Linked DNA regions of Homo sapiens: regions 1, 2, 3, 5, 6 and 7 are each linked to region 4. Evidence: promoter capture Hi-C in 16 types of primary human blood cells and fetal thymus (Javierre and others, 2016). All regions are on one chromosome and are shown on one strand. Each heading gives the region's core, a stretch centred on a gene start or on the middle of the fragment in contact. The rest is flanking DNA. Distances are from core to core; before and after follow the strand shown.

Region 1 (2,805 bases), core at 134-2,633, 220 kb before region 4:
ACTCTCTGGTTCAAGCAATTCTCCTGCATCAGCCTCCCGAGTAGCTGGGATTACAGGCACATGCCACCACGCCCAGCTATTTTTTGTATTTTTAGTAGAGACGGGGTTTCATTATGTTGTTCAGGATGGTCTCAATCTCTTGACCTCATGATCCACCCTCCTCGGCCTCCCAAAGTGTTGGGATTACAGGCGTGAGCCACCATGCACTGCTTTTTTGTTTTGTTTTGTTTTGTTTTGTTTGAGACAGAGTCTCGCTCTGTCACCCAGACTGGAGTGCAATGGCGTGATCTCGGCTCACTGCAACCTGTATCTCCACCTCCCAGGTTCAAGTGATTCTCTTGCCTCAGCATCCCAAGTAGCTGGGACTACAGGCTCACGCCAGCACAACCGGCTAATTTTTTTGTATTTTTAGTAGAGACAGGGCTTCACCATGTTGGCCAGGCTGGTCTCGAACTCCTGACCTCAGGGGATCCGCCTGCCTTGGCCTCTCAAAGTGCTGGGATTACAGGCGTGAGCCACCGCGCCTGGCCAAAAGTATTTTTTAAAGTAAGAGTGTACTTGTAGAAGGTGGGGGTATACTTGTAGAAAGTGAGGGTAATTTTGTGGATAAGGGCAATGCTATGGAAGATGGAAAATGTAAGTAAAAGGTGGAGAAATATTAGCTAGGCAATACTGAACAGAGAGGAAGTCTACTGTGATGGAAGAAGGGAAGATATCAAGATTAATTAATAGTAATAAAAAGCACAAAGCCAGTAAACTCAGGTTATTGTGTACAGGTCACCAAATCCTTCTGAAGAGTGGGCTCAAAGGAGGAGGGAGGTTTGCATATCTCTTGGAAGAAGTGGGAAACCGTCTGGGCTGGCAGTGTCAGGCTGAACGAGCTCAAACAAGTGCAAAGTCAGTTAAGGTAAAAGAAGGAGTTGGTGTCACAGCAAAAGAGAATAGGAGAAATGTCAAGAAATTAAAAATAGTCTCTTTTTCATAAGAAGATAGAGAATCAAAGAGTTATGTAAAATAGGTGAGGGAATGAAAAGAAAAATAGAAGAACATGAAAGTTTGTCTAAGTGTAATGGTGTCTTAGAAATAAGTAGACATGTACCAAGTGCAAGCAAAGAAGAACAGTCCCCTGCAAAACATACAACCAAAAGACAACGAAAAAGAAGACATCCCAGCCTAACTGAGTGAGACATCCTTCAGGGAGGAAGGAGGAGCTTGTGCATTCAGAACAGGACACATCCCCCATGCCTGCAGGACCCCCCCTCCTCTCTCAGCAAGGCTGAGTGGGAACCCCTGAATGGGCACACTCTGGACAAGAGCTCACACTCCCGCTTCCCTGAACACTTGCAGCTGCTCTGTCACTCTACCTGGGGACTGTCAGGATGAATCTTACTAGGCCCTTTAGTCTTGTGCTTGTAGCCACCGCATCATTCCTCATTCCCCACCTCTAATCCCCATTCAGCTTGTGCACTACCTTTCAACCCCATCTTCCATAGCTCCTCATCTCCTGAAACCTTTCCACCGTGCACTCTGGAGCTCAAAGTTATTCATCAGCAGAACATTCTGCACCCTAACTCTCTTTCCAAAATGTTCTCTTCATCCTCATGCTCTAAGGATACTTCTTTCTTTGCTGTCCTCTTCAGAGGTGGTTGCTTGCCCTCCCACAGCCCTTCTATTACTGGGCCTGGGGGGTAGTTAGATGTTCTCCTCGTTCCCCGTTGCTAATCCCAGATGCCCTCTCTTTCAGACTCAGTATCCACAATCCACAGTCCCTCTGTCTGCAGGCATCTCTGCCACCTTCCCCCATGCTTTGAAGAGTTTAGCTCCTGGATCATCCTCACCAACATTCCTAGAGATTTCCATACCCACATGGATGATTATTCCAGGAACCTGGACTCTAGATTCCATGATATTCTCTTCTCCAACGAACTGGTCATCCATTCTACCTAAGCGATTGTCTTCCATGGTCATATTTTAAGTCTTGTCATAACAATCACCTCAATCCCATCACTAGTTCAGTTTCAAATATCCCATGCTCTGAACACACCTCTTTCCTAGGCCAGGGTCCCTGGAACACAGAGTCAGCCTGAAGCAAAGCAAATGTGCTGATGCTTTACTGAGAAAGAAGCAAGAATGAGGGAAAGGAGCAGTCAGGCAGGAAAGTCAGGAGAGCAACCACAAAGTGTGCTGTAGAGCTGGCAACATCTTCCAAGAATATCCAACCGCGGGGCTCACAGGGCTCCTCCAGAGAGGCCAGAGGACCACGGCGTCTAAACCCAATTCAGCAGGGGCACGCAGAGGTTATTCAACTCCTTCTCAAGCCTTCTGGCATTCTTCTCCTTGGTCAAAATCATCCCCATGGAGCTTTAATTCCCTACGATTTGCAGGTTGTGTATTGACCACTCTGGGAAGTCACAGGGGAAGCCAGAGCCTCCATGGACCCAGTCAGGTGAGACGTGGTATCGAAGCTGCCACAGCTCCTATGGCAGTGGCTGTGACAGAAGCTGTGCTGAAGCCTTGTCCAACCCTGAGGTTCCGCTGAGGCAACCAGAGCCACGGCGATGACCACTGGAATGAAATGAGCCATCCCCAGGGCCAATCCAGCCAGAAAATAGGGCAAGAGGCTCAGGCCCTGGGGAAGAGGAGCGGAAAAGTCAGGCTCAACACATTTGGGGTGCAAAGAAACTGGATCTTGCACATCCATGCATTGCACCACATAGATCTGCTCAGACCCATTCATTTCTGAATCTTGCATGAGAAAAAAAATGATGCTCTCACTTTTTCTCAAGAAGAAAATTTAAAACCCAG
Region 2 (2,700 bases), core at 9-2,508, 200 kb after region 4:
GGCAGCACAGCTGGGATTTTGGCGGCCATTCCACAGCCGACAATAGCACGCAGCACAGGACAGCGCAGGCCTGTACTCCAGGGCCAGAATCTGCCTGGGCTTCTTGTTTGGGTGGCGGAGGGGGAGGAGCGGGCACAGCACGGCATCCTGGCCTTGCCACGCAGAAGGTATGGGCTGGAGAGATTCCCTCGGGGAATGGATTTAGTGGGTGGCCGTGTCCCAGAGCAGGGCAGGCGGTGCCCATGGAAGGTGGCAGGGCGCTTTGTGTGTGAGTGGCATGGTTGTACTTAAAGACACAGCCTGCCCTGGGGCCGGCAGGAAGGTGCCCCCGATCAGAGGGCCTGCATGTTGCTTGTTCTTCAAAGCCTCTGTTCCCGGGTCTTCCTCCTTGCCCTGCGGTCCGCCAGGCAGGGGCTGATCTAATTATCAGGACAGCCCTTGTCCTACCCTTCCATTGCTGTCCAGAGAGATGGACAGATTATTACTGCTGCCTTAAACTCTGGGTGGAAAACAGAGCGAAGGGGGAGTGTCCGGTTGATCCCAGTTTGTCAGGCAGGCCACTGTAAGATGTGTTTTGTGTGTTTATGCCACAGTTTGCCTTGGCTCTTGCTGCTGTTGGAGTTCAGTAATTTTGCCTGCCTGCTTGTGCCTTCACCCTCAACCCGCCGCCCCCATTCGTCCTGCTTTTCTTGTTCGTGGACCAAGCCTCCAGCCTTCCCCTTTGCAGCCCCTCCTCTCCAGTGCACCCCCTCCCTCTGGGCCCCACCCCCACTGAGAGTCCCCTGCTTGCTGTCGCTCCCAGATCGGGGAAGCTTGCTGTGCCTTTAAAGAAAGCAGACTCCTGGCTGTGACGCACTTCTGGCTGTCAGCCAGGAAGATCGCTCCTGCCAGGCAGACTGAGAAGAAAACCAACAACTTTTCTTTTGTGTGTGGGGTTACTTTCCACTGGCCCCCCCTTCCTCCTCTCCTTTCAAGATTTAAATGCTAATGGCGGATTAAAACCTGTAGATACGTTTGGCTTTAGGAGTCTGGTAAGGCCCCCCCGCACCGAGACTTTTTCTCCCTCACTCTTTCTCTGGGTTTTTGTTCAAACATGGACGAGGGGGTGGGGTGGATTCTCCCCCCTCACCTCCCTTTCCTGCGCCATCCTTAAAGGGGAGGGAGAGAAGAGGGAGAGCAAGTAAACATACTCAGAAACAGGCGCTGTGGAGCAGAGCTTGCCAACATCCGGGAGTTGGCGCCTTTCAGAGCAAAGGGTTGCTTTCTTTCCCCCTTGCGTAGATGTCAGCATGTTTTTGTTCAGAGAAGGAAAGCGTGTTTGCCTGCACGTTGAGCTGTAGAGACAGCTCAGGAGAGGGCTTCACCATTTCTGCGTGAGGCCGTGGGTGTGTGCACGGTGGTGGGCAGTGAAAAAAGGTTCATTTTGTCAGCTGATAGGGACCAGGGTGTGTGAATATAGTGGTGGGGGGCCCAGGTCAGTGTGTGTGTGTGTGTGTGTGTGTGTGTGTGTGTGTGTGTGTGTGTGTGTGTGTGTGTGTGTGTGTATGTGTACGCGCCCCAGTACAATACATGGCTGCAGGCCTGGTTGCAGGTCTGGTTCCTGATTGCAGCTCTTTTGCCATCATCCTGATCTGGACCCTCCAGAGAACGGGGAGAAGGGGCAGACATCTGTAAGCCACTTTTGAAGAAACCAGAGAAGCTTGGTTTCCTCTGTAATCCCTCCCTTGTTCCTCTCCAGGGCTTTGGGGTTCTGTGCCAAACTCTAGGCTACAAAGATGGAGTGGTCTGTGTGAAGAGGAGGCTTCAGCCCAAGCTAGTCCCTTTAGATGGACCAAACTGGTTTGCCCCGACCTCAGGAAACTCTTTGGACTTGGACCAGACGGTCTACCCAGGACTCCCCAGGAATTGAGAAAGATTGTTTTTCTCTGTATGGCGTCTCTTGGAGCCACTGGTCCTCTTGCCTTTTATCTTCTCAGAGGCAGGGGATGTACCAGCAAAGTATTTCCTATGCTGTTTTTATAGCTTATTAGCCTAGGGCAAGGTGGCTTGGCCCCTCTGGGTAACCTGCCAGGTGAGATCTCGGTGTTTGCTTGCATGTGCCTCCTGGCCTATCCGTCCTAGAGTTGGAGGAGGAGGAGCCCCAAGATCAGGGTTTTCACTCTTTGGATGTGAGTGTCTCTCAGATGGGGAGTATCTTTCTAAGAAAGGGGTACAGAGCATGGAATTCTTAGGCTACAGGCAGGCAGCGTCTCAGGGTAAGTGGTGGTAAATTTTGCAAGTGAGCACTGGCGCACAGATGGGGCAGCCATTTCCTTTGTGAGCTGTGAGGCTGTAGGCCTTTGGAACTATCAGGTGGAGAAGGGGGTGGGGTTCTGGGAAGGACCCTTTGAGGTGGGAGCTTGTGTGGGCTTTGGGCCCTGAAATTCTGGGAGTGGGAGTTAGCACTAAGAGAATGAGGGTTCAGCAGAAGCAAGGGCCCATGAGCTGAGAGATCGGTATAGTTTAACAACTCTCTGGGACCAAAGGTCACTTTGGTGTTATCTTGAGGTAGGTCTGGTGTTCCCTTGATGGGCAGTAAGTGGCTAAGAGGCAGTCTCAAAGGAGCTGGCACCCAGGCCAAGGGCGGGGTAAGGAGAGCAGTGCTGCTGCAGCTCAGACCCTCTGGCCTTTGGCCTATCACTTGTTCTGTACTTAAAACTG
Region 3 (2,700 bases), core at 117-2,616, 230 kb before region 4:
TTTTTAATTTGAGACAGGGTCTTGCTCTGTTGCCCAGGCTGGAGTGCAGTGGTGTGATCTCAGCTCACTGCAGCCTCAACCTCCCGGGCTCAATCAATCCTCCTGCCTCAGTGTCCCATGTAGCTGAGACCACAGGCGTGCCACCACGCCCAGCTAATTTTTGTATTTTTGGTAGCAACGGGTTTTGCCATGTTGCCCAGGCTGGTCTTAAATCCGGAGCTCAAAGGATCCACCCACTTCAGCCTCTCAAAGTGCTGGGATTACAGGTGTGAGCCACCGTGCCTGGCTGAAAAATTGTGATTCTTATTTATAATCCACCATCTCTAACAGACCCTCATCATAGCTCCACTCCAGGGTCTTCTTGTTTTATAAAATATGAAGGAGTAGCTGTCAGTAGGATGAGGGTCCAGAGGTAGTAAATATTACCTGTACTATTAGCCACCAAATTGGAGTCAAAAGGTGATCTGTCATGTCTAAAATTGATGTCATCTAGTAGTTGAACAAAGACTTCACATAAGACCGTGAAAGTGAGGCCTGAGCACTAACTTCATTGTTGTTGCCTTATTTCTGTGCTAACGACCATCAACCACCAGTGTAGGGTCCAGAACTCCAGACTTGCATTTACGTCTGCATCCTGGACACCTTCCATCTTAGGTAAGTTCCAACAGAAAATTTCTCAATGGTGCGTGTTTTCCATTTCTTCCAGCATGGAGCTATTTTTATTAAACGATGGAATGTTATTATCATCTTTAAGTCTGCAGTCCTATATTCCACCGCCGTCTGACCTAATTCTGCCAGAATCTGGAGCACGGCAGAACCTGAGAATGGTCGACAGGGCCAGCAGGATAAGAGTGAGTATCTGTAGTAAGCCTCTTTGCTGTCTTTGAGTTCTCCTTGATCTGACTCCATTTTTAAATTTTTATTTTGTTATTTTTAGAGTCGGGGTCTTGCTCTGTCACCCAGACTGGAGTGCAGTGGTCCGATCATGGTTCACGGTAGCCTTGAACTCCTGGGCTCAAGCAATCCTCCCACCTCAGACTTCTGAGTAGCTGGAACTACAGGCACGCACCATCAAGCCTGGCTAAGTGGCTGGAATTTTTTTTTAAGAGAGATTTAAGCGAGGTGGGGTTTTGCTATGTTGCCCAAACTGGCCTCAATCTCCGGGCCTCAAGCAACCCGCCCTCCTTCAGCCTCTTCAGTTATTGGAATTAGAGGCGTGAGCCACCAAGCCCAGCTGTGACTCCATTTTTGAACTTCTTTTATTTGAGAAGTCTTCGTCATTTCAGAGAGTGATCATAAACTGAGCCTGTCCACTCCCCTGATACCTTTCCCATGTAACCCATAAAAAGGTTGAGTTTTCTGCTTTTATCCCTAGGCTAGACTAACCTTTCAAGGTCCTTCCCCAGACCAAAGGTTAGAAAAGAATTCCAACTTCTCACATTTCATGTTAAACCACATGTCCCTAGATTGTCAAGTCATACTTAAAATAAAATAACTGGGCCAGGTATGGTGGTCCATGCCTGTAATTTTAGCACTTTGGGAGGCTGAAGCAGGAGGATAGCTTGAGGCCAGGAGTTTGAGACCAGCCTGGGCAAGATGGCAAGACGCAGTCTCCACACACACAAAAAAAAGTTTAAAATAAAATAATTGATATACTGAAGATGACTAAAAATTAGAGTTTCTCCTTAATGTTTCTAGGAATTATGTTGTTCTAAAACATCCAGTAATTCACTTTCCCCTTAATAATTAGAATTAGTTATCCCAGCCGATAGAGTAACCCACATCTCTGCCTATTGGCTCAGCGGCATGAGGAAAACAAAATGGCAACTGAGCAGTCTTAGCTTCCAACTTAACGAGTCTGCAACTATGTTCCCTATTGGAAGCATTTTCTCCCTTAGCAACTAAGGCTTCTAAACCTGCAAGGAATAAGACAGTGGGGACAAGAAGCAAATATTCTTTAACTGGATTATTAGATGCATTCATGAGAGGGGCCTCTCTTACTCCACCCTCCTCCTTTCTATGCTTGTGTGTCCCTGCTGTAGAGAAAATAATGTCATATATTGGTTGCTGATGTAAAGAATGTACTGCTCTTCCATTTGTTAGGGTGCTGTATTTCTGCTGGCACCATAACTGACCTTCAGCAGGTCATTCTCTCAGTAACCATGACCTTCATAGGTGATTCTCTCAAGCCAGCTGTTTCTGGGTGATAACATATATCCTAAGGTTAACATAAATCTCATGGTATGAGCCTGTTGCCACACCTCTTCCACTATAAAATTAGCCTCTTGGTCAGATGTATGGGATACCATGTTGGTAAAGATGACATTCTTGGCTGGGTACAGTGGCTCCTGCCTGTAATCCCACGGCTGTGAGAGGCCTAGGCAGGAGGATTGCTTGAGGCAATCCACACGTGCTTTCCAGCTTTTCCAGCTTCAATGCTAGTCTCTACTCATTCTGACCACTAACCATGAAAAGAAAGGAGTTTGAACCAGCCTGGGCAACACAGCAAGATCCTGTCTCTATAAAAAATTTAAAAAGTTAGCCAGGCATTGTGGCATGTGCCTGTAGTCCCCGCTACTCTGGAGGCTAAGGTGGGAGAATATCTTGAGGCCAGGAGGGCTCATATTGGAAGCTACAGTGAGCTATGATTACAACATTTCACTCTAGCCTGGGTGATAGAGCAAAACCCTGTCTCAAAAA
Region 4 (2,700 bases), core at 104-2,603:
CTGAATCTGTGCAGGGATGTCTGGGCCAGGTGCAGACTGAGTCTAGGTGGTTTCCCTGGAGAAAAAAAGCGGGGGGCCCTGGAGAACAGGGGTAAGAGACTGAAGAACAATAAAGAGGTCACGGGGTACGTTCCCTTTCTGACATCCATCGCATCCTGAGCCCAAGGTCACAGGAGAGGGTCGCATACTGCAGATGGAGCTGAGGGAACGGGGGGAGAGGCAGGCGGGCCCTGAAGGTGCAAGGTCGTGTGGGCCTCGGGACAAGTCAGGGTAGAGGGACCTGGCTCCCACGACCCTCCCTCTCCGCAGCCCCGTGGAGGCCGCACCCCAGAGCCTCCAGCATCATCCCTGGGCCCCTCTGCGCTCCAGCCCTCGTGTCTAAGCTCCCCGGAGGCGTTTTCTCTCCGCTCTCAGCCTCTGCTCCCGCGCTTGTGGCTGTCCCTGGCCCTGTCTCTCTCAGACTGTCCCTGGGCATATGTGTCTGTCTCACGATTCCTGCCTCTGTTTTGTCTCATCCCTCCCTTGCTCTCCACCGCAGTCCTGGTTGCCGTCCATGTCTCATCCCGACCCCTTCTGTCTCCATGCCTCCCTCACTCTCTTTCTCGTCCCCCTGTCTCCCTGTCTCCTCTTGTCTCTCTCTTAACCTCATCTCCTGTCTCTGCCCTGTCCCCGCTCCATCCTGTCTCTCTCTTACCCTCATCTCCTGTCTCTGCCCTGTCCCCGCTCCATCCTGTCTTTCGCTGTGTATGTTCCGTCCTTGTCTCCCTCTGTGTACCTGTATCTCTTGTCCCTGTCTCCATCACTGTTTCTGCCCCTTTCTCTCCCGGTCTCTGTTTCCTCTGTCTATCCACGTCCCTTCCCTGTCCCCATCCCAGGCTCCGTCTCTTCCCGGTCTCCATCCCCCTTCCTGGGCCGCCTCCGCAGTCTCCGCCGGGATGGGACCTCGCTGGGGGCGGGGCTGAGGGGCCAGATCGGAATAACTCGGTTATCAGAGCGAATTGAATTAACTTCTTCACACGAGCGCCGCCAGGCCTGCCTCCCCTCCCTTCCGCGGGGCCGCAGGTGGGGAGGCCCGGGAAAAGGGTCGGGACCCTCTGGCCTCGGACGCTGTGTAGAGACCGAAGGTCTGGTCCGGATTGGGGCAGGATAGGGACTCCGGGGATAGGGTCCCGCGCATCCCAGCTCCACACCTCTGAGCCCTAAGACGGCGGCGGGGACCCTTCGGGGTGGGGGTCGGGGCGGCTTTGGGCGGTGTCTGGGCCTCCTAGGCCCCGCCCCTTCGGAGCTCGCCCCGCCCCGCCCCCCTCCGCGGGGTCCTGCGCGTTAAAAGGCGCGCGGGCCGGGCTGGCTGCACTTGCGTTGCACCCGGGCTGAGTGCGGCCGCGACGGGGCGGGCGGACTCTCGGGCGCTCAGAGCTGGCCTCGGGTCCTCGGAGCCTGGCGCTCGAACCTCCCTTCCGACCTCCACCCGGACCCCGACCCCGACCCGGCCTGGCCCGGCCCCCGCCCCCGCCCCCCGGGCCGATGGACTACTCCTACCTCAATTCGTACGACTCGTGCGTGGCGGCCATGGAGGCGTCCGCCTACGGCGACTTTGGCGCCTGCAGCCAGCCCGGCGGCTTCCAATACAGCCCCCTGCGGCCCGCTTTCCCCGCGGCAGGGCCGCCCTGCCCCGCGCTCGGCTCCTCCAACTGCGCACTTGGCGCCCTACGCGACCACCAGCCCGCGCCCTACTCGGCAGGTGAGCGCAGCCCCGGCCCAACCCTCCCTCCAATTCCTGCAGAATCCCTGGGCCCGCTCGCCAAGTGAATGCGACTGTCCCCCTCAGCCGCCCCCATTCCTGCCTTGGCCAGACCCTCCAATGCCCCGAGAGACCCCCAGAATACGAGGTTCTCCTCCGCAGGAATGAGCCTCACCCTCTCATCTCTCCTGTTCCTTTTTCTCGTTGCCAAATCTCTGTCTCGTGCCCTTCAGGTCAAGGAAATATATCCCCATCCAGCTCTGGGCCCCTTACCAGGCCTTCCCCTCACCACCTGCAAAGACTGACCACTAAACCTCTACAAGCGCTGGATCTTTGAAAAAGGCTCCCAGCCCAGCCCTATCACCACTTATCACCCCACCCCATCACCGCTGCCCCACGAGATGCATGACCCCCAGCAAGGACCTCTCCAGGCAGCTGAGCTGCCCAGACGGGAAGCTTCCTAGAGCTCGCGTGGCCATCAGGCCCCTCCTGCCCTGTCTTGGACCCACGCTGCCTGGGACCGAACCCTTCTGTAGCCACCAAAACCAGATCCCGTAGCCCGCAATAAAGGGGCCCGGGTTTTTAAGCCACTTGTATTTCCCCATTCCCCCAGACTCTCCCAGCTAGAGTTCTGTAGAACCCGGAAGCAGCTCCTGCATCCCCAAGACTTTAGATCCAAGTCCCTGTCCAAACCCTCAACCTCACTGAGCTTCTCAGTCATCTCAGCCCTCTGATTAGAGTCCCAGCCTGCCCTATGTAATCTTATCGCCTTCCCTCCTGGGAAGACTGCCGGGGACCCAAGTAGAAGACTGGGGCCTAAGGGCCAGGCGCGGTGGCTCATGCCTGTAATCCCAGCACTTTGGGAGGCCAAGGCGGGTGGATCACTTGAGGTCAAGAGTTCAAGACCAGCCTAACCAACATGGTGAAACCCCATCTCCATTAAAAATACAAAAAAAAAA
Region 5 (2,814 bases), core at 306-2,805, 150 kb before region 4:
TTTTAGCACGGTTTAAGTACTTCTTGGCCCTCTGTTCCAGCAGCACTAAGATGTTTGTAAATTAGAAGTTTAAGTTGTTCCTAGTCCCTTAATTAGAGTATATGTGCAGAGGATAGTGGTTTAGAAGAAAAATTGTAAGACTTAGATTCTTATAATTTCTAATTCATAAAAAAGGAGCTGTAAAAACATGTATCTTATAAAGCAGTAGTACCCAGAACATATAAAGAAGTCTTACAAATCAATAATAAAAAAAATCTAATTTTTTTAAATGGGCAAAATATTTTAGCAGATGCTTCATCGAAAAAGAGATGGGTGGCAAATAAGCACATGAAAACATACTCAGTGCAAATTCAAGTCACAATGAGATACCACTACATACCTGCTACAGTAGCTAAAATTTAGGAAAACTGACAATACTAAGGGCTGACAAGGATACAGAACAATATTGATACATCACTGATAGGAATGCATAATGGTATAGCCACATTGGAAAACACTTTGGCAGTTTCTTATAAAGGTAAAGTATACATTTACCATACCACAGAGCAATAGCAACTCCTAGGTATTTGTCTAAGAGAAATAAAAATGTACGTCTGCAAAAATACCTGTATGTAAATATTTATAGCAGCTTTATTCATGACCACCAAAAACTGGATATAATGCAATGTCCATCAACTGGTGAATGGACCAACAAATTGTGGTATATCCATACGGTAAAAACAGCCAAACAAACAATGACAACAACAAAAGCACCATGCTAAGCTAAAACCAACACAAAAAGCTACCTGCTCTGTAATTCCATGTATATGACATTCTGGAGAAGACAGAACTTTAGGGGCAGAAATCAGATTGGTGGTTGCCAGTGTTTGGGAATGGGAAGAGAATATAAAGGAACTTTTTGGGATGATGGAGAAATATTCTGTATCCTGATTATCATGCTGGTTACATGAATGTATATAATTATCAAAATTCATTAAATTATATATCTTAAAAAGGATGAATTTTACTCTGTGTAAATGTGATACTTCAGTAAACTGACTTTAAACACTTTTTAAAAAGCTGTCATCCCTCTCTAATTTTCATTATTAATTGTGACCAGTGGCATACTGAGAATTTGTATTAGTAGTATCAAAATTAATTCATATTGTTAATGGTCACCTGGAATGTTTTGAATTCTTATTGTTGATGATATCTCACATTAGAGTGATATGCATTCTGATTTTTAGTAGGGAATGAAGATTTGTCAATTCATACTATCAGTGATGTAATGAAGTATAATTACTGATGAATAGTGATAAATTCACTTTATGAGTAGTGTACAGTGGACTTGTATAAATTCATAAAGTATATGATTCTTCATTCCAGCAAGGAGAAAGTTGAGGTTACAGACTGGGAGCTTGCCTCTCCCACACTATTCTTGGGTTCCTTATCTCTGGACTCTCATGCAGGGACACCACCTATATAGTGAGGCCGTTGTGGTGCTTCAGGAACCAAAGATCCTGAAAAGGGAGGCTGGTGTGGGGAGATTTTGATTTCATCCTGCTTGGGCTTGGTGGTGGCTTTTGCAAGCCTTTGCCTCGGAGAAGGTGAGAACTGCAAGGCAGAGCATGAAGCACATCAGAACTGTTTGAAATTCCCCACAAGAGTCTCCCTCCCTCCTTCTGCCTTTTCTCCCCGAGTGCATTTCATCAGTGTCGGAAGGACTGGTTCCCGGCACTGCCTTCCCTGCTTGGCCAGGGTCCCCGAGGAACTGAGCTAATGAGTGGATAACACGCATTTGCCAAGGCCTTCCTGGATGTGGTACCCGGGCTTTGTTAATTTTAAAGTGCTGCCATCCTTGGCTGAAGACCATTCAATTCCCTCTCACAGCAGTCATTTATTTTTAGCATTTGCTTATTTTCCCTCTGCCTTACTAAGGGGAGAGGGTGCATTAAACCCTTTCTTTAAAAAACCGATAGCCTAAGCCAGATTGCTGTCCTACAGAAGAGGTTTTAAAGGCCTTCCTTTGTGGACCCCAACAGCTCCATGGGTGTTCTTAGAGCGAAGAGCAGATGCTAATCTTGCAGCTAGACTACTGGCAGCCTCCCTGGGAGGCTCTGCTTCCTTCCTGGCTAGCTATACGTGGAGCAGGTAGAGTACCAGTGTACCTGTGCTTGAAAGTAGGTCCTTAGGGAACCTGACCAACCACATGGAAGTCGGTCCTGCCTTAGGGGCACAGAGCCTTTTCCGTCTTCTAACCTATTCTTGGTCTGGCTTCGTGCTGTAGAGTAGGGCTACCTTCTGCCCAAGGAGGCTGGGCTTTGTGCTGTGTGATCTCCTGACTGTAGTAATGATGATGGCAGTAGTTGATTGGGTGCTTTCTGTGTGCCAGGCCCATGTCAAGCACTTCCCATGTTGGGTCTAATCCTCAGGGCAATCTTGAAAGGAAGGGATTATTATTCCTATTTTACAGATAGGGAAAATGAAGCTCAGAGTTGTCCAAGGTTGTCCAGCTAGTAAAAGAAGGAGCCAGGATTTGAAGCTGGGTCTTTCTGAACCCCAAACCCTTGCTCTTTCCACTGGACTACACTGCCTATGGAGGGAAGGGGCCGGGAGCAAGGCCATGGGATGGACCGAAGGATGCTGGAACCAGGAGTCAAGTCGGCTCTATCAGGGTTTCTTGATGACCCATGATGTATTATATGGATTTTGAGAACTGTAAAAACAGACAAGCCACTCTCCTTGTTCTCAGAAAGCTGACACTCAGAAAAGGGATAAAAGTCCCGCTTTGGAGAATGAGGCAGAATGTGTTCAGTGCCACAGAGAAGAACACAT
Region 6 (2,711 bases), core at 108-2,607, 130 kb before region 4:
TTTTTTTTTTTTTTAAATAATTCTAGACTACCTTTGTCTGCCACAGTTTTCTGGCAGCTGGCTTTATTTTCCTGGGTGTATCAGTTTGGATGTGCTCTGCTGTCCAACTTGGTGCACTGAACGTTCCGACTTGGACCTGGATAGTGATAGTCTTTTAGAATCTTCTCAGGGCTCTTCTCTCTCATCAGCCTAAGCCTTTAGCTTCGTCTTAACCATGTCTTTCCTTTTTCCGTTTAAGGAAACCTCATTTTTTAAGCCATTCAACCAATATATATTGACTGCCAATTGTATGCAAGGCACCATACCCAGCTCTGACTCATTCTCATGGATGAAATAGAAACAAAAGAATCCTGTAGTTCTCTTATTTTTGTATTGCATTGACTTTTGCATGAAAAATTACCTGACTTGTAGGGATGGGTAAGGAAGGTAGAGTAAAACAAGAGATGTAATTCCCTTTCCTTCGAGTGTGTCTAGGCAAATTCACAGGAAGTTCACAAGCTCAGGAAAGTTGGGCAGTCCTTTGCTGTTATATTAGACTATGGAGTCACTGCCAAGTCCATGAAGTCCACTAAATTTCTAATAGATATTTCTGTGGCCCTTGGAAGGAAGGTGTAGTTTGTGGCTTTGGCAAGACCTCTCTAACCTCCAATGATACATTCCTTTTCTTCCGTATCAGTATTGTTGTGAATATCAAGAGATAAAATATGTGATATGTGGATTGTAAAGTGCTCTACAGTTGTAATTGCTTATTAGTTTCATTTATGCATAATTCAGCGTGTTCTTACCGAGTATCAGGCACTCTGCCAGTTGCTGGGATTATATAAATGATTATACATAGTCTAGCCCCTCATCAGTGCTCCCAGTCATTTACAGAGACAAGCCTGTAAACAAGGAATCACAACGCAGAGTGATAAATGCAATGGTAGCTGCACAAAGTATGTAGGCAGCACTGCTGTAAGTATTGGTGAGCTCTACCTGAGAAGTGAGCAGGCTGGTGTCTGGGAAGTGTCACAGGGTAAGTGACCTTGAATTGGGTCTTAAGGATGAGTTGGAGATTGCCAGGAAGGCTAAAAGGGATGGACCTTCCAGGCAGAGGGAACAGTCTATGCAGAGGCGTTGGGTGGGGGTTAGGGAGTGACAGCAGGTGGAACCATCTGCTGCAGGATTGAGGAGAATAACAAGAAATAAGGCCGGAGAGTGAAGAAGGCTACACATAGGAAGGACCTTGTAAGGCAGTTCTAGGGAGCTCATTCTCTATTCTGAAGGCCGTTAAAGGATTTTAAGCAGGGCAATGTCGAATTCACACTTGCATTTTAGATGGACCATTCTGACAGGGTGGAGGAGGAATTGGAGGGGAAAGATTAGCAATGGTTCTTGACTTTTTAGGGATAATGGACTCCTTTGGGAATCTGTAAGAAGCTATGCTCCTGTCCTCCAAAAAAACATTTAAAATATCTGGAGATTCCTAAAGGTGATCTTTGGGAATAGAGTAAATAGATATTAGCAGAATATTAGAAGATTGAGTACTCAGTGGATTGTGAGAATTGATGGAAAAGGAGGTATGCATGGTGACACCTCAGTTTCCAATTTGAGTGAATAGTTAGATATGTGGGTCTGGAGAGCTCAAAGGAGTAGTTTGGCAGGAGATAGGGATTTAGGAGTATTTTCCATTTCCTTGGGAGTTAAAACAATAGATGTAACCAAAATTGCCCAAAGAAAGGATTTAAAGTGAGGGGGTGGTAGGAGGACAAGTCCTTTACTCAGGATACCAGCATTTAAGGTGTGAGCAGGAAAAAGGATCCAGGCAAGAAAACTAAAAGGTATCAAAGATGCTTTGTATCTGTTTTACCTGCTGAGAACAGACACAGCCTAGGGAGGAAAGAAACTTCTTTGCCATCCTTGCTGAGACTTTATCTTTGGTTATGCCATTCCTAGTGACACTCTTCTCCCATGTCATGTGAGCATTTGCTCTTTAGCAAGAAGCCTACTTAGCTGGGTCCACTTTTGTCAAAGTTGGTGTTTCTGGGTAGAGGGCAGTCTTACTGGTTCAGGTAACCCAAGGATGCTTGGTATGGAAATCTTGTTGGCCTGATTGTTCTTTGCTTTCCCTCCAGCCCTCAGAGTGGCATCTTCAGAGGCACATTGGTGTCCTAGAGAAAGATTGGGCTTCAGTACCAGATATCTGAATGATTCATCTAAGCTCTATTACTAGATGTGTGATCTTGAGTAAATGACTTAAAGTCTCTGAATTTCAATTTTCTCATCTGTAACATAGTAAAAACAATACCCATCTTATAGGGTTGTTAGGATGATTAGAGATAATCATATATATTTAAAGCACAGTGACATTTAATAAAGAATTTCTCTATGGAGGTGGGTTTTGGCAAAGTGTAAAGCAGGAAGCCTGCCTAGGAGGTATTGAGCAACTCACCACTCAAGGGGTACTAACAGCTGAGATGTCTGCCCATCATGGATTCTGTAAAGGGGATTCTCGCCATGGGTCATTGGATTATCTGGCCTCCGGTGCCCCTGTCAGCCATGTGATTTCTAATGTTTAGAAGCTCTAGGCTCACTATCAGAGCAAGTAATGTTCTTTTTTTTTTTTTTTTTTTTTTGAGACAGAGTTTCGCTCTTGTTACCCAGACTGGAGTGCAATGACATGATCTCGGCTCACTGCAACCTCTGCCTCCTGGGTTCAGGCGATTCTCCTG
Region 7 (2,700 bases), core at 38-2,537, 250 kb after region 4:
CCAGACTATGGTTCCACCAGAAATGGACAACAATATTCTCCAACATTTAAAACAGTGAAATATTAAGTGCCATGTTGGTTTGGTGACAAGGGCATTCTCAGACATTTGTGGCAGCAGCAAAAGGGGTTCAAGCCTTTCAGATAGGATTTAGCATGGTATCTCAAATTGTTGCACCTTTTGACCCATTAATTTCACTTCAAGGAATTTAAAGAAATAAGAGGAGGCTGGGCGCGGTGGCTGACGCCTGTAACCCCAGCACTTTGGGAGGCCAAGGAGGGCGGATCACGAGGTCAGGAGATCGAGAGCATCCTAACTAACACAGTGAAACCCCGTCTCTACTAAAAATACAAAAAATTAGCCAGGCATGGTGGGGGGCGCCTGTAGTCCCAGCTACTCAGGAGGCTGAGGCAGGAGAATGGCGTGAACCCGGGAGGCAGAGCTTGCAGTGAGCCGAGATCGCACCACTGCACTCCAGCCTGGGCAACAGACCGAGACTCCATCTCAAAAAAAAAAAAAAAAAGAGGAAGTGTCAAAGAAGCTTCATGAATACAGATATTCACTTAAGCATTATCATAATTAAGAAAGCAAAGAGTTTGGCATGTCCTCAAAAAGTTAAACATAAAATTACCAAATGACCAAGCAATTCCATTCTCGGTATAAACCCAAAAGATATGAAACTAGGGACTAAACACACTTAAACGCCAGTGCTCACAGCGTTACTCACAGTAGCCAAAAAGTGGAAACAACTCAAGTGCCTATCCACAGATGAATGAATAAACCAAATGCGGTGTCACACACAATGGAATACTATTCAGCCATATAAAGGAATGATACATTCTATACATGGATGAACTCTGAAAACACTACGCTAAGTGAAAAAAGCCAAAGGGACAAATATTGTATGATTCCATTTACATGAAATATCTACAATAGGCATGTTCACAGAGATGGAAAGTATATTAGAGGTAAACCAGGGCTGTGGGAAGGGGTAATGAGTTACTGCTTAATGGGCAGAGTTTCTGTTTGGGATGAAGAAAAATTTTGGAATTAGACAGTGAAAATGTTGCAGAACACTGCAAATGTAATTAATGCATGAATTGTATACTTCAAAATGGTCAAAATGGTGACATGGTCTAGAAATCTCTTCTGGGGAGTAAACTGGTTAAAGGAAGATCCAATGTCTACACAAATAGGTAAGAGGGAAATGAAGGTAAAGCACAAGACAGTTGTTCAAAAAGGAACCTAATAAACTGTCAATAAAGTGATCCAATGTACTGTTTTCAATTTGATCCAGTAGAGAAAAAATTAGAATATTCCCATGATACTGAGGGACAAAGTCCCTGGCCTTAAACGGTACTAGATTAAAGTTACCCAAGGTGATGGAAATATTCCTTCTTGGGGTGGGGTCTTGGGGGATGACACTGAGACAGGGAGCACTTCTGTGTTGTTTAAATAATTACAAAGAGAACATACTACTTTTATAAACAGCAAAACAATAAAGATATATTTCCATTCTGAAAAAAAAAATAGAAATATTTACTTGCGTTTCTCAGATTGGCTGTTAATTTACCCATATTTAAGCATCTCTCCGTGATGTCCACCTGCTGCTCTTGCAGCATTTCCTATCTCAGTGAAAGGTACTACCATCCAAGCAGTTGCCGAATCAGAAATCTCAGCTTTGAAACCTATATTTCCTTTGTATTTTTCCCTTCAGTCTTCAGAACCAAACTATATCTAAGTCCAAAATACTTCTCAAATACAGTATGTCCTCACTTCACTGACAGTTTCTTGGAAACTGTGACTTTAAATGAAACGACATATAACAAAACCAATTTTACCACAGGCTAATTGATAGAAACAAGAGTTCAGTTCCTGTGTCATATTTCTGTCACAAAGACATCACTAAACCTCTATTTAAGAGACACCAAATTGTCTCTTAAGTAAAGACTCAAAACACTTTTAATATTAAATGTTGAAATGAAATGTGTAGCTTTACACATACAGTTAAAGATTAACAAAGCAAGTATGAAAGCTTCCCCAATTTTTGGTAAAGCAGTAAGTGACAGTGGCTGTTGTTGTAGCGGCTGTGGGTTAAATCAAGGAATAAGAGTTCACAAAGTAAAAATTGTAAGGAGCAACTCCTACCACTGTGCAGTTCAAAAACAATTACCAATATGGACTAAGCACTTTTGTGCCCCATCATTTATTGTTGTGCCTTTGCATGATTATTATACATTTTGTGAATTTTTACTTATTTAGAGACAACGTCTTGCTCTGTTGCCCAGGCTGGAGTTTGGTGGCATGAACAAGCTCACTGCAAGGCTCAAGTGACTTCCCACCTTGGTCTCCAAAGTAGCTGGGACTACAGGCATGTGCCACCACGCCCGGCTAGGTTTTTTTTTTTTTTGTCTCATTTTTTTGTAGAGATGGGGTCTCACTATGGTGCTCAGGCTGGTCTTGAACTCCTGGGCTCAAGCAATCTGCCTGCCTCAGCCTCCCAAAGTGAGCCACTGTGCCCGGCCCCTCCCAGGATTTTTAGCATAAAAATCAAAATCTTTAATTTGGCCCACAGGCTTTTTTCTAGTCTAGTCACTACTTCTCCAGGCACTTCTTGGCCATACAACCGCAATGGTCTTAGTTCCTCAAAAACACCCACACTTTCTCCCGTGACAGGACTCTTATGAATGCTCTTTCCTCTGC

What was found. Contacts are between HindIII fragments. The CHiCAGO score rates a contact against its expected background, and 5 or more counts as called.
Region 1: a fragment that was not itself captured here is called in contact with the fragment with the promoter of PHOX2A in region 4 in 3 of 17 cell types (M1 macrophages, M0 macrophages and M2 macrophages); the score reaches 8.0 in M1 macrophages.
Region 2: a contact is called between a fragment that was not itself captured here and the fragment with the promoter of PHOX2A in region 4, in 2 of 17 cell types (M1 macrophages and M0 macrophages). The highest score is 5.4, in M1 macrophages.
Region 3: a fragment that was not itself captured here is called in contact with the fragment with the promoter of PHOX2A in region 4 in 1 of 17 cell types (M0 macrophages); the score reaches 5.1 in M0 macrophages.
Region 5: a fragment that was not itself captured here is called in contact with the fragment with the promoter of PHOX2A in region 4 in 6 of 17 cell types (M1 macrophages, M2 macrophages, M0 macrophages and 3 more); the score reaches 11.4 in M1 macrophages.
Region 6: a fragment that was not itself captured here is called in contact with the fragment with the promoter of PHOX2A in region 4 in 3 of 17 cell types (M1 macrophages, M0 macrophages and M2 macrophages); the score reaches 6.2 in M1 macrophages.
Region 7: a contact is called between a fragment that was not itself captured here and the fragment with the promoter of PHOX2A in region 4, in 2 of 17 cell types (megakaryocytes and erythroblasts). The highest score is 6.1, in megakaryocytes.

The regions. Positions count from the first base shown.
Region 1 is chr11:72,458,807-72,461,611 of GRCh38, reverse strand. No RefSeq gene overlaps it. Among named protein-coding and RNA genes, the nearest start is that of CLPB, 26 kb to the right of the region's middle. The HindIII fragment of the contact is 9,489 bases long and covers 1-2,805 here.
Region 2 is chr11:72,039,290-72,041,989 of GRCh38, reverse strand. All of the region lies in intron 2 of NUMA1 (nuclear mitotic apparatus protein 1), which reads left to right. Among named protein-coding and RNA genes, the nearest start is that of NUMA1-AS1, 26 kb to the right of the region's middle. RefSeq lists enhancers at 1-37, 128-177, 1-411, 412-1,197, 1,678-1,757. The HindIII fragment of the contact is 887 bases long and covers 815-1,701 here.
Region 3 is chr11:72,475,965-72,478,664 of GRCh38, reverse strand. It overlaps the pseudogene ART2BP. Among named protein-coding and RNA genes, the nearest start is that of CLPB, 43 kb to the right of the region's middle. The HindIII fragment of the contact is 3,151 bases long and covers 1-2,700 here.
Region 4 is chr11:72,242,829-72,245,528 of GRCh38, reverse strand. It overlaps PHOX2A (paired like homeobox 2A), which reads left to right and starts at 1,353. Exons shown (of 3, transcript NM_005169.4): 1 at 1,353-1,741. The coding sequence starts at 1,525. The HindIII fragment of the contact is 4,541 bases long and covers 1-2,199 here.
Region 5 is chr11:72,395,136-72,397,949 of GRCh38, reverse strand. The region is part of intron 3 of CLPB (ClpB family mitochondrial disaggregase); the gene reads left to right. Among named protein-coding and RNA genes, the nearest start is that of CLPB, 38 kb to the left of the region's middle. The HindIII fragment of the contact is 4,933 bases long and covers 1-2,814 here.
Region 6 is chr11:72,373,865-72,376,575 of GRCh38, reverse strand. The region is part of intron 4 of CLPB (ClpB family mitochondrial disaggregase); the gene reads left to right. Among named protein-coding and RNA genes, the nearest start is that of CLPB, 59 kb to the left of the region's middle. The HindIII fragment of the contact is 5,465 bases long and covers 1-2,711 here.
Region 7 is chr11:71,991,662-71,994,361 of GRCh38, reverse strand. All of the region lies in intron 6 of RNF121 (ring finger protein 121), which reads right to left. Among named protein-coding and RNA genes, the nearest start is that of IL18BP, 5.9 kb to the left of the region's middle. RefSeq lists an enhancer at 2,566-2,625. The HindIII fragment of the contact is 1,494 bases long and covers 541-2,034 here.